Regions from separate parts of the Homo sapiens genome. Here region 1 is linked to region 2. Evidence: promoter capture Hi-C in human tissues and cell types (Jung and others, 2019). All regions are on one chromosome and are shown on one strand. The core of a region is centred on a gene start or on the middle of the fragment in contact, and the rest is flanking DNA. Distances in the headings are between cores, read along the strand shown.

Evidence for each region. Contacts are between HindIII fragments. The study calls those that stand out against the background at their distance.
Region 1: a contact is called between a fragment that was not itself captured here and the fragment with the promoter of HERC1 in region 2, in 1 of the 25 tissues and cell types used here (bladder).

What each region holds. Positions count from the first base shown.
Region 1 is chr15:63,694,834-63,700,938 of GRCh38, forward strand. HERC1 (HECT and RLD domain containing E3 ubiquitin protein ligase family member 1) reads right to left here. Exons shown (of 78, transcript NM_003922.4): 26 at 3,895-4,163; 27 at 1,291-1,506; 28 at 1-61. Among named protein-coding and RNA genes, the nearest start is that of USP3-AS1, 97 kb to the left of the region's middle. The HindIII fragment of the contact is 3,729 bases long and covers 2,758-6,105 here.
Region 2 is chr15:63,831,127-63,836,563 of GRCh38, forward strand. It overlaps HERC1 (HECT and RLD domain containing E3 ubiquitin protein ligase family member 1), which reads right to left and starts at 2,822. Exons shown (of 78, transcript NM_003922.4): 1 at 2,701-2,822. RefSeq lists enhancers at 1,978-2,843, 2,844-3,707, 2,881-3,010 and a silencer at 2,211-2,640. The HindIII fragment of the contact is 22,604 bases long and covers 1-5,437 here.

The DNA of each region.
Region 1 (6,105 bases), core at 3,372-5,871, 130 kb before region 2:
TTTTATGCACAGCTACCTGGATTTCAATCTGAATATTTCTCTTAGCTGCTCTGATCCCATCCTGAATTACACATAAAGAATTACTTTTTCTATTAGCAACAATAATACCTGCTTGCAAAAAGAAGTAATAACATTTTATTTCTAGTCTATGCTAGAGCCTTACGATGGTTTTTAATTATTTACTATATTTCATATATAAAGTATATAATAATTTTTTTTTGAGGCAGGGTCTTGCTGTATCACCCATGCTGGGGTGCAGTGGTGCAATCCTGGCTCACTGCAACCTCTGCCTCCCAGGCTCAAGTGAGCCTCCCATCTCAGCCTCCCAAGTAGCTGGGACTACAGGCACATACCACCACACTTGGCTAATTTTTTGTATTTTCTGTAGAGACAGGGTTTCGCCATATTGTCCAGGCGGGTTTTAAACTCCTGAGCTCAAGCAATCCAACAGCCTTGGCCTCCCAAAGTGCTGGGACTACAGATGGGTGCCACCATGCCCAGCCTCCAAATTTAATTTTAAATGCTTGATAATTGTTGAGTCTGTATAATCTTTTTTTTTTTTTTTTTTTTGAGATGGAGTCTTGCTCTGTTGCCCAGGCTGGAGTGTAGTGGGGTGATCTTCGCTCACTGCAACCTCCACCTCCCGGGTTCAAGCGATTCTCCCTGCCTCAGCCTCCTGAGTACCTGGGATTACAGGCGCCCACCACCACGCCCAGCTAATTTTTGGTATTTTTAGTAGAGACGGGGTTTCGCCATGTTGGCCAGGCTGGTCTTGAACTCCTGACCTCAGGTGATCCGACCACCTCAGCCTCCCAAAGTGCTGGGATTATAGGTGTGAGCCACCACGCCCGGCCGAGTCTGTATAATCTATTTCCTCACAAAGCAGTTTTTCCTGCCTAAATATGAAAGACATAAAGATAACATTTTTTTCTAAGTTATCAAAGGAATCACACAAACTAGGTAAACGATCAAATCTAAAACGTAAGCTCTTGAAACCCATCCTCCCAAACTCCAATCCCTATCCTTACTTGGATCTATTCCCATCCAAACTGGATAATAAAACTGGATTAATAAAACCGAGCCAGCAAATAATCTACAATAGTACAATAATACCACAGCTCACCTAATCTCTACTGCATTATTTAGGAAATGGAACCAAGGAGCTATCTTAAAAAATTTAAAGTCTTTGTATTTTTAAACTGAATCATAAACACCAAAAAGTTTCACATTATTAAAGTGGCTTTGTAAAATGACAGTTAAAATCTGTATATACTGCAAGGTGTCACCTACCTGATAGTGATGCAATCGGCCACTCTCTCCCTTGCCTCCTGTGTGTCCAACAGTGCCTAAACCAAAACACCCTGCTAGGAACTGCAGCCTCACAGACGTGAGTAGTGTGGAGGACTGGAAGCCTGAACTCAATCTGCTTCCTGCCAGTGAGATGCTACCTTTTTCTTCCATCCCAGACAATAGAACGAGGATCTGATGAAGTGCCTCTAAACGAAGCTTGAGGAAAAAAACATATTTTAGAGTTCTTCACTTAACTCAGACATGATGAAACTCTGTATGCCAAAAACAGTATTTTTAACACTTAGAAAATTCTGACATTTCATATGAATCTATTCTAAGATAAACATTTATTTTATTATTATTACTTTTTTTGAAGATTTTCTAAAAACTCTATAAGCACACATCAGAATAAAAAAGGTTAGAGTACAATAGGAAAAGTAGTAGCTTTGGATGTAGGAGACATGGTTTCAAGGACAGACTCTTTTATCTTACTGTGTGGCCTTGGGAAAGTCACTTAACTTACTGAATTTGTTTCCTCGTATATAAAATAAGACTAATAATACCTTATCTAATCTATTCACACAGCTATTGTGAAGCTCACAAGGAGATATATGTGAAGGTTTCAAAACTATAAGGTAGTACTGCTACTGCTTTCTTTATTAATAAGTTTATATAGAATGAATACTCTTTAGCCCAGGAATGAGAAATACTTCTGAACTATTTCTCTGTGGTTTTCTTGAACTTCTGCCCCTATCTTCCCTAGGAAGACACTCCCCATCACTGTAGTTGATCAGCTTATCCTTCTTCTTTAAAAAAAAAAAAAAAAAATTATTTTGAAATAATTTTAGATATACAGAAAAGTTGTAAAGATGGTACAGAGAGTTCTTGTATACTCTTCCTTGAGCTTCCCCTAATCTTAACATCTTACATAACCATGGTACATTTATGAAAACTAAGACATTAACATTGGTACAATACTATCAACTAAACCTAAAGTAAAATAGTATTAATTAAAAGACTATTTGGATTTTAGTTTTCCATAATGTTCATTTCCTTTTCCAGGATTTAATCCTAGATACCACATTGCATTTAGTTGCCATGACTTTTTAGTTTCTCCTACCCTGTGACAGATTCTGTCTTTCCTTCTTTTTCATGACGACACTTCGGAAGAGCTGTTCATATATTTTGTAGATGTCCCTAAATTTTGGGTTGTCTGATTTTTTTCTCATGACTACAGTGGAATTATGGATTTGGGGGAAGAATACCACATAAAGTGTTCTCATTACACTATATCGACATGACTTAATACAGGTGATGTTAATCTTGATTTTTTTTTTTTTTTTTTTTTGAGATGGAGTTTCACTCTTGTTGCCCAGGCTGGAGTGCAATGGCGCGATCTCGGCTCACTGCAACCTCTGCCTCCTGGGTTCAAGTGATTCTCCCGCCTCAGCCTCCCAAGTAGCTGGGATTACAGGCATCCACCACCACGCCCAGTTAATTTTTGTATTTTTAGTAGAGATGGGGTTTCACCACGCTGGTGAGGCTGGTTTCAAACTCCTGATCTCAGGTGATCCACCCACCTTGGCCTCCCAAAGTGCTGGGATTACAGGAGTGAGCCACCGCGCCCGGCCAATCTTAATCATTTAGTTAAGGCAATACCTGCCAGGTTTCTGCAATGTGAAGTTACAATTTTATCTCCTTCCTATAGCCTATTTGTTAGAAGCAAGCCACTAAGTCCAGCTCACTCTCAAGGAGAGAAGAATTAATCTCCACTTCCTGCAGGGAGAACTATGGAAGAATTGTGGACATGTTAAAACCACAATAATTAATAAATATTTGGGGGAAGATACTTTAAGGCTATGCAAACATCTTATGTCTCTTTCAAGTTTTGCTCACTCATTTTAGCATTCAACAGTGGGTCTTGATTGCAGCAATTATTTCTGTGAGGTTCTAACCTGAAGCAGGTGTCTAATTTAAACTGAGACAAATGGGTCAAAAATGAAGGCTCAGGGCCAGGAGTGGTGGTTCACACCTGTAATCTCAGCACTTTGGGAGGCCGAGGCAAGTGGATCACCTGAGGTCAGAAGCTCGAGACCAGCCTGGCCAACATGGTGAAACTTTGTCTCTCCTAATAATACAAAAAAATTAGCCAAGCATGGTGGCGCATGCCTATAATCTCTGCTACTCTGGAGGCTGAGGCAGGAGAATCACTTGAACCCAGGAGGCAGAGGTTCCAGTGAGTCAAGATCTCACCATTGCACTACAGCCTGGGCAACGAGAGCGAAACTCCGTCTCCAAAAAAAAAAAAAAAAAAGGCTCTGATGACCTATTGTCATCAACTAGTCTCACCCTAGTTTGTAGGAGACATGTGAAGACTTCTGAGTATATTGTTCTGAGAGATGACAATTTTAAAATGCACTTTTGTCTAGTTCAAACAAAATAATGTGCTGTTCTAGTGAAGAATGTTATGTTTAAAAGCTCAGGTACAGGAAAGGGGAAGGCAAGGAATAGAAGAAAAGGAAAGGTTTTCCCTAGAACTATACATTCAATGGTTCAGTTTTAAGTTTCCAGAGCTCTCATAAGGAGTAAATATCAAAGACTTACTTCTGCCCTTAACTGCTGCTGTTCCATTGCAATGATGGAGGCCTGGGGACTTGTAGACATACTTTCCTCTGGCTCTTTAAAACCTGGGGCATTCCCCACATCTCCACTCACAAAGCTTACAACATTTTCAATCAAAGTGTGAACTCCCAAAGACTTGGTAAGATCAAAATCTGACTCAAAGGAATAGGAGGAGTTGCATAACCAGTCTCTGCTATGTTTCAGGCGAGCCCAAGAGTCACTCAGGGATTCCAATTGACTGTGCATAGGACCTATATACAAACAGAATAAACATATATCAATGGCAATCAAGTAGAGCATACATTCTGAAACTAGATAAGGCTGAGTGCTGCTACCATAACCAACTGGTGAAAAATGGATACTCATGTTTGAATACGCGCATGCATTAAGTGAATCTGAGCAAAATGCTTTGGTAAAAACAACAAACAAACAAAAATTAGAGCAATGTAAGAAAATAAAGGGAAAGCCCTGTTTGATGTACCAGTGTCTCTGTAAGCGCTTTAGCAACACGCTGCCACAAGAAAAAGAAAGGCAGAAGCTGTTCTCAAAATGCTTAGCTTAAAATGCTCTGCAGTATTAAACCAGATCATCATTTATGAACAAAAAGGAACTAGGCACTTAAGACACTGCTAGTAAGACCTACTCAAAACAGAAAGATTTCATCTAATTTAACATTATCATTACAAAGGGCAAGTTAAGACTGAACAAAGTGTCTACATATCTGCAATGAAACATTACCAAAAAATGAATATAGAAGGGCAAGTAAACTTACACAAAAAGCAGACACAAACATCACCCTTTGGGTTTCATTAATATAAGGAACATTCTCACTGACTGTGTCATGTGCATATTTACTGCAGGTTGTGAAACTCCTATATAGAGGAAGCAAAGTTTCACAGACAAGAATATGAGATTTACTGTAAAATGATACCTATATAAAATTATCAAGTGGCATCAAAATAGTTGCTAAATATAATACCATTAGATTTGCCAGTGGGTATTTTTTAAGCTAAAATCTTTACATTAGACAGCAAAATGTTAACATGTTTGAACATAACAGCAACTGTCCAAGTCATTTGTCAATATTAGCTTTAAATAAATATATAAATGTCCAATTCTTACAAATCTTTAATTTAACTGGTCTCAGATACATAAATTTGATTAACTACAATCCTTTCGTCATGACATACTCTCATCATTGGTCCATGCATGGCCCAATTTTGAAATCACATATTTATAATAAATATCTGTGAACACAAGAACTAGAAAACTAACAGTAACTTCTATCTATTTGCTCCTCCTCCAGCCCATCTCTTGCTACCTAAAGTTTTATTATCCTGAGGCCTGGGTTTATTATTTCCTTGTTTTTATTGTTTTAATGTATTCCTAAGATGAATAATGGTTTTAGTTGTCGTTGACTTTTAAAAAAGAGTATCATTTTATATCACCTTTTTGGACACACTCTTTCATTCAATATAATATTGCTAATATTCATCCACATTACTAAGTGTAACCATGGTTCATTTATTTGATTGCTGTATAACATCCTATTATGTGAATATACTACATTTCTCAATTAGGGAAGTATCTTAAGGTACCCAATTAAATATGCATAAAAATTATATCAGTTATGTAACTAGATAGAAAAGTTTGGGAAGATAACTACTTAAACACTAATGCCCACAGAGAAAACAAACTAACAACAATATTCAATGTAGAATCTTATTTTTGAATTACTATACTGGTGTCAATTAAACCCTAGGATTTCAAAATTCGTAACACGGAGCTAATATTACAAAGTAACTATGAAATAATTTATATGTATCCTAGTAAAATAATGTAGAATGGCAAAGAATATATGGTTTATCTGCCTTCTGTGTTTTAGAAAGAATTATTAAGATTTAAAAAGGCTTAATTTTCACCACTGCACTCCAGCCTGGGTGACAGGGCGAGACCCTGCCTCAAAAAAAAAAAAAAAAAAAAAAGCTTAATTTTCATTCTTGCTGAACATGAAAAATAACAACCTACCTAAAAATTTCCCCAAATTGTAGACCTGAATATTCTTTCATGTGACACAGAAAAAACTGAAAATTCAAAGAATAATATCATAGATGCATAATGTATTAAGTTAAAAATATTTAAAGAATAAAGTAGAGGCTAATGTAAAAAATATATACATTCTTTTTTCATTTC
Region 2 (5,437 bases), core at 1,572-4,071:
GATAGAGTCTCACTGTGTCTCCCAGGCTGGAGTAGAGTGGTGCAATCACAGCTCACTGCAGCCTCAATCTCCCAGGCTCAATTGATCCTCCCATCTCAGCCTCCCTAATAGCAGGAATTGCAGGTATGCACCACCACGTCCAGCAAATTTTTGTATTTACCATAGAGACAAGGTTTCACCATGTTGCCCAGACTGATCTTAAACTCCTGGGCTCAAGCCATCCTCCCACCTCGGCCTCCCCAAGGGCTGAGATTACAGGCGTGAGCTACTGTAATCTGGCCAAAAGTTCTATTTACAATTTTTAAAAATAGCTTCAACAGATTATAGTAAGTTTGTTACTTGCTATTATATAGTTATCCAACTATAACATTCAAGTTTTGTTTCACAAGTTTCTTTTTATCCTAACACAACCTTCTCACTCTCCAAGCCACGATGTCATCATTATCATCATTTTAAGATCTGAAAATCTGAATTTTAAAAATTTTAAAAGGTCAGCTCCTTCAATATACCCAGCCCCCTTTTTTTTCTATTTCAAATATTAGGGAGTATTCAGTATGACTTTTTTGGGGGAAAACATGCTTGGAACGTTGGAATTGTTATTACTATTTATTATTTGCACCCTCTACTAACCCAATCCAGTCCAATCACCAACACATTCTCCAAAATTTCTTTAAATTGAGATTTTCAAGAGATGTTTATATTAATAAGCAGATTAAGTGACGCATTTACATTTGCTTTCTCTTCCATGCAACATCAGGGTGCCTGCATTGGAAATGGAATACATGACCAGCAAATGAATGGATGTGTCACATGCAAACAGCATGACTGGAAATTTAAGAAGCAAAATGATAAGAACCTTAGGGAACGCAAAATTCATAAAAGTTTAGAATTACAAGAGGCCTTAATAGGCCATTTAATCCATTCCAATAACAACAACCCCAGATGACAATCTATCCTATTTTTAAAAGGCTCCAGATTTCCAACCTCCCTAGATATCTCATTCTGCCATACAACCTTGTCATGTGATTTGGGGGAAATATTATGACTGTTCTTTGCCCTTCCTAATGCTATCTTTTCTCAAATAATATAGCAATACATCTTAACTCACTTCCAAGATATATAAATGTGTATAGGTGCAGAATACGTGTGTGTGTGTGTGTGTCTCTATACATATATACGTACATTTATGCATAAGACAGGCACCTAGGACATTCAATTTTGCTTGTATAAACGCAGGCTATGGAAACACATATATCAAAGAGACATACTCATCCCACACTAATCACAACAGGCACTATGAAACAATGTCACAGAACAATTTTGGTCTAAAAATATCCAGTAGAAATCAATTTCATAAAACCTGAGGTAAATAGGTTTCTTCCCACTATGAATAATCATAGTTTCTTTCCCTTCTACAAATACTGCCCCATTTTGAGCAACCACCACTAACAGAATTGTAAAAATATAATATATACATAGGTACTAGACCCAAACAGACAATGTTTTAACGTTTGATTTTTCAAACCACTTAGCTAACAATCATTTTGGAAAAGGGCCCAGTGAAAAAGATAGTGATGGCAGAGTTCAGCCAGTGATAATGAACTAGCAGCCAGTTTTAATCAAGCAGGCCAGAGAACTGATTCAAATAAAATAAATCATTTTTGGAACAAATATAGAATGAGGAAGTCCCAAGCAAGGATAAAAAAAAATGTGTCTGTTAGGAAATACAATAAAATGTTAACCATGAAATGCCACCTCTGGAGATGGAATTACAAAGATGGGTTAGTTTGTTCAGATTTGTTATTCCCATCATTTAATTATCTCTATATTCTAAGTATTATAGACATTTCTTAAACTAAGACAAATCTGTCCCTGTGTTTCACAGCTCTCTAAGATAACATGTCTTTTACATAACCTCCTGGGAGAGGTGGTACAAGCTCCTGTCCTCCTCGTGTCTCCCAGTAACCTGCCACCCATCACAGAACAGATTTCACCATGTTCCCCGGGGTAGCTCCTGTCATCACCATCATCATCCTCATCTCACGCTTAAGACTAAACAATGCGCCCCGCCTCGCCTCCCGGTTGCAAAGGCTTTATAATTTGTTGTTTTATTGGGGCGGGAGATTTGGAGAAAGGTTTAGCAGATGATGAGCTGCCCTCACCCAAAGGCAGAGGAGAGGAGGAAGACACGTCGTCCCAGCCTCCACCCCGCTAAAGGCGGCCGGCGCCTGGGGACACCGGGGTCGCGGCACTCCCCGGACCCTGAGAGGGAGTCGGCCGCCGCCCGCGGACCGAGCCCCAGCCGGGGCAGAGGAGCTGGTCAGCAGATAAAGGAATGAAGCAGAAAGAGACGCGACCACAGCGGGGCCGGGGCACAGACGTTGTAAGCCGCTGGAGGGGCGGGTCTCTCGGCCCTCTCCGCGGGCGCCTCGGCTTCTACGCTGCTCCGAGGCGCCCGGGCGGCAGGAGGCCTCTAGAGCCGGGGACCCGGGGGATCCGCGGCGCGCCAGGAGGGCTCCCCCAGCTCGCCTGCCGCCCACCCGGGACCCCAGCAGCCCCGCTCGGCTGCAGTCCCGAAACGGCCCCGGCCGGCCCTGCGCGGCCGGCAAAGCACACACGCGCGCGCGCACACACACACACACACACACACACACACACACACACAGGACCAGGAGGACGGTAGATGATGCGTTACCGTACGTGGCTCTGGAGCTGGCGGGGTGGGGCGCGGCTCCGGCGACCCGAGCCCGGCTCCGCAGAGGCTGCGGCGGTCGCGTCCTTTATTTTTGCTGCAGCAGCAGCGACTTGTCAAAGGGAAAGACGTAAGAGGCGGCGGCAGCAGCGGCGGCGTCAGGCGAGTCTCACGAGATTTGGGCGGAACTCTCGCGCAGCCGGGAGCCCTCGCCCCGCCCAACAGGCCCAGCGCGGGAGGTGAAAGGGGAACCGAGAGGAAGGCGGCTGAGGTGGAGTTGGGGGTTGAGCGAAAAGGGGAAAGGGATTTGGGAGCGAGGGGAGCCAAGCTAGGTGCTGGGGACACTTTGCTACCGCGCGGCCCTCACCCTTCAGCCGTCGCGGAATCCGGGCAGCCCCGACCGCCTGCGGGGACCTGACTCCACAGATGAAGCACAATTGGGGGCGTTTCACAAAGGGTGGTGAGGAGTGGGGGGCCATGCAGTGCGCCCCCTTTTCCTCGTGGTGGGCAGGGAAGACCCCGCCGCCAGGCGAAGGGACACGTGTTACGGCCGGCGGCAGGGCCAGGGCCTCACCCCTTTATCTCCGCCTCGCACCCGGCGCCCCACGCTCTTTATCTCTCATCGCAGCGGCCCCGGCCCTCCGGCCGGCTAAGTTCAATCACATAAAAGCGTTTCACTTGACCTACTCTTCCACCTTGTTCATGTCTTTGCGCCTTATGGGACTGCCAGAACCCTGCAGATGCCAGGGCCTGGCTCCTCGGTTTTCTTTTCTGCTTGGGAACACAGTAGTGTCCTTTGGGTGACTTACATCCTTGATCATGACCTCGACCTCCACGTGAAACCCCATGAGGGGAAGGACACAGACTGGCTCAGTCCTCACCATATCTCCAGCGCCTAACATAGGTCCAAGTGGACATTAAATTGTTGAGTGAATACCCCATCTCCATCTTCCTCCTTCTGTACCTGGTTTTACTCCTTTCCAGCCACCTTCATGGTGTCTTTCCTTCCAGATATTCTAACGAGCATCAATTAAACTGACCGATGACTTGGGGACAAAAAATAGAGTTGGCCTCTGCGTTCCAGAAGTTTGCAATCCAATTGGAGGCGTAGGAGAAGCACACAAACATACAAGCCATGAATGTGTCACTAATGTAAGAAATTACGGTATAGACAGACGAGGGAGTGCTTTCCCATGGTTAAATTAGATACATGTTTGTGTGTCACATGAGGCAGTTTAGTCCAAGAGTTAGGAGCCATGTGCTTCACTGTCAGACACTGGTGGGAATTCTGGAATCCCACTTACCCCAGGTGTGTGACCTTGGGCAAGTTGCTTGACCTCTCTGAACCTCAGTTCCTTATGTGTCAATTTATAATGCCAGTTCTTGTTATCACAAGGTTCCTCTGAGGAGTAAAATATATGTAAAGCTCACATACGGCACATATTAAGTACTCATTAAATGATGGGTCTTAGGTGTGTAGCTTTTAAGTTTCTATGTATAAAATGTGTATTTCTGGTAAATGATGTAAGGGAGTAGCTACATGAGGAGTGATGTCATTGTTGCTAGTGCTTTATGATCTGGGTATTGTGTGTGAAGCATACTCAAAAACAACAAGCAAAAGCTCCTCCTTTTAACTTGTTGATGTCATCTACGTCACTCACAAATATGATATTCTGTCTTTCTTGAATTTGTAAAATTGTACTGGTTTTGCCCACTTTTTCTTTTTCTTTTTTTTGAGATGGAGTTTTGCTCTTGTTGCCCAGGCTAGAGTGCAATGGCACCATCTTGGCTCACTGCAACCTCCGCCTCCCAGGTTTAAGCGATTCTCCTGCCTCAGCCTCCCAAGTAGGTGGGATTACAGGTGTGTGCCACCATGCCTGGCTAATTTTTGTATTTTTAGTAGAGATGGGGTTCCACCATATTGGCCAGGCTGGTCTCGAACTCCTGACCTTGTGATCCGACCGCCTTGGCCTCCCAAAGTGCTGGGATTACAGGGGTGAGCCACCGTGCCCAGCCTGGTTTTGCCCATTCTATTTCAAGAAAAGGACTGCTTACTTTAAAGACCAATCAAGAGACTCCCTCTTTTACCATCTCCTTAGCTTCCACCCTCAGAGCTGTGTGTAAAAGAGAATTGAATACAACTGTGTTCAGTTGCATACAATTAGCAAATACTGTTAGTGTCAGCAAGTGAGCCCTGACTACTAGCCACCCTCACCTTGACCACACCACTCTTTCCCAAAACACTGTTTTTTTCTTTCTTTCTTTTTTCTTTTTGAGGTGGAGTCTCACTCTGCTGCTTAGGCTAGAGTGCAGTGGCGTGATCTTGGCTCACTTCAACCTCTGTCTCCCGGGTTCAAGCGATCCTCCTGCCTCAGTCTTCCTAGTAGCTGGGATTACAGGTGTGCTGCACCATGCCCGGCTAATTTTTTTATATTTTAGTAGAGACAGGGTTTCACCATGTTGCCCAGGCTGCTCTCGAACTCCTGACCTCAAATGATCTGCCTGCCTCGGCCTCCCAAAGTGCTGGGATTACAGGCGTGAGCCACCGCACCATGCTTAAAACACTGTTTCATACTCAAATCAGCATATCCTGGAACCTTGTTGTCAGCATTAACCTCCCAACTCTACCAGTTCATTTTATTCAGATTTCCCTAAAGAAAAATGTTGGAGATGGGAAGAGTGGATGGAGGGATCTCAGAGCCACAGCCAAGTCCTAAGCATCACAAGCCCTTGGTCTGATAGCCC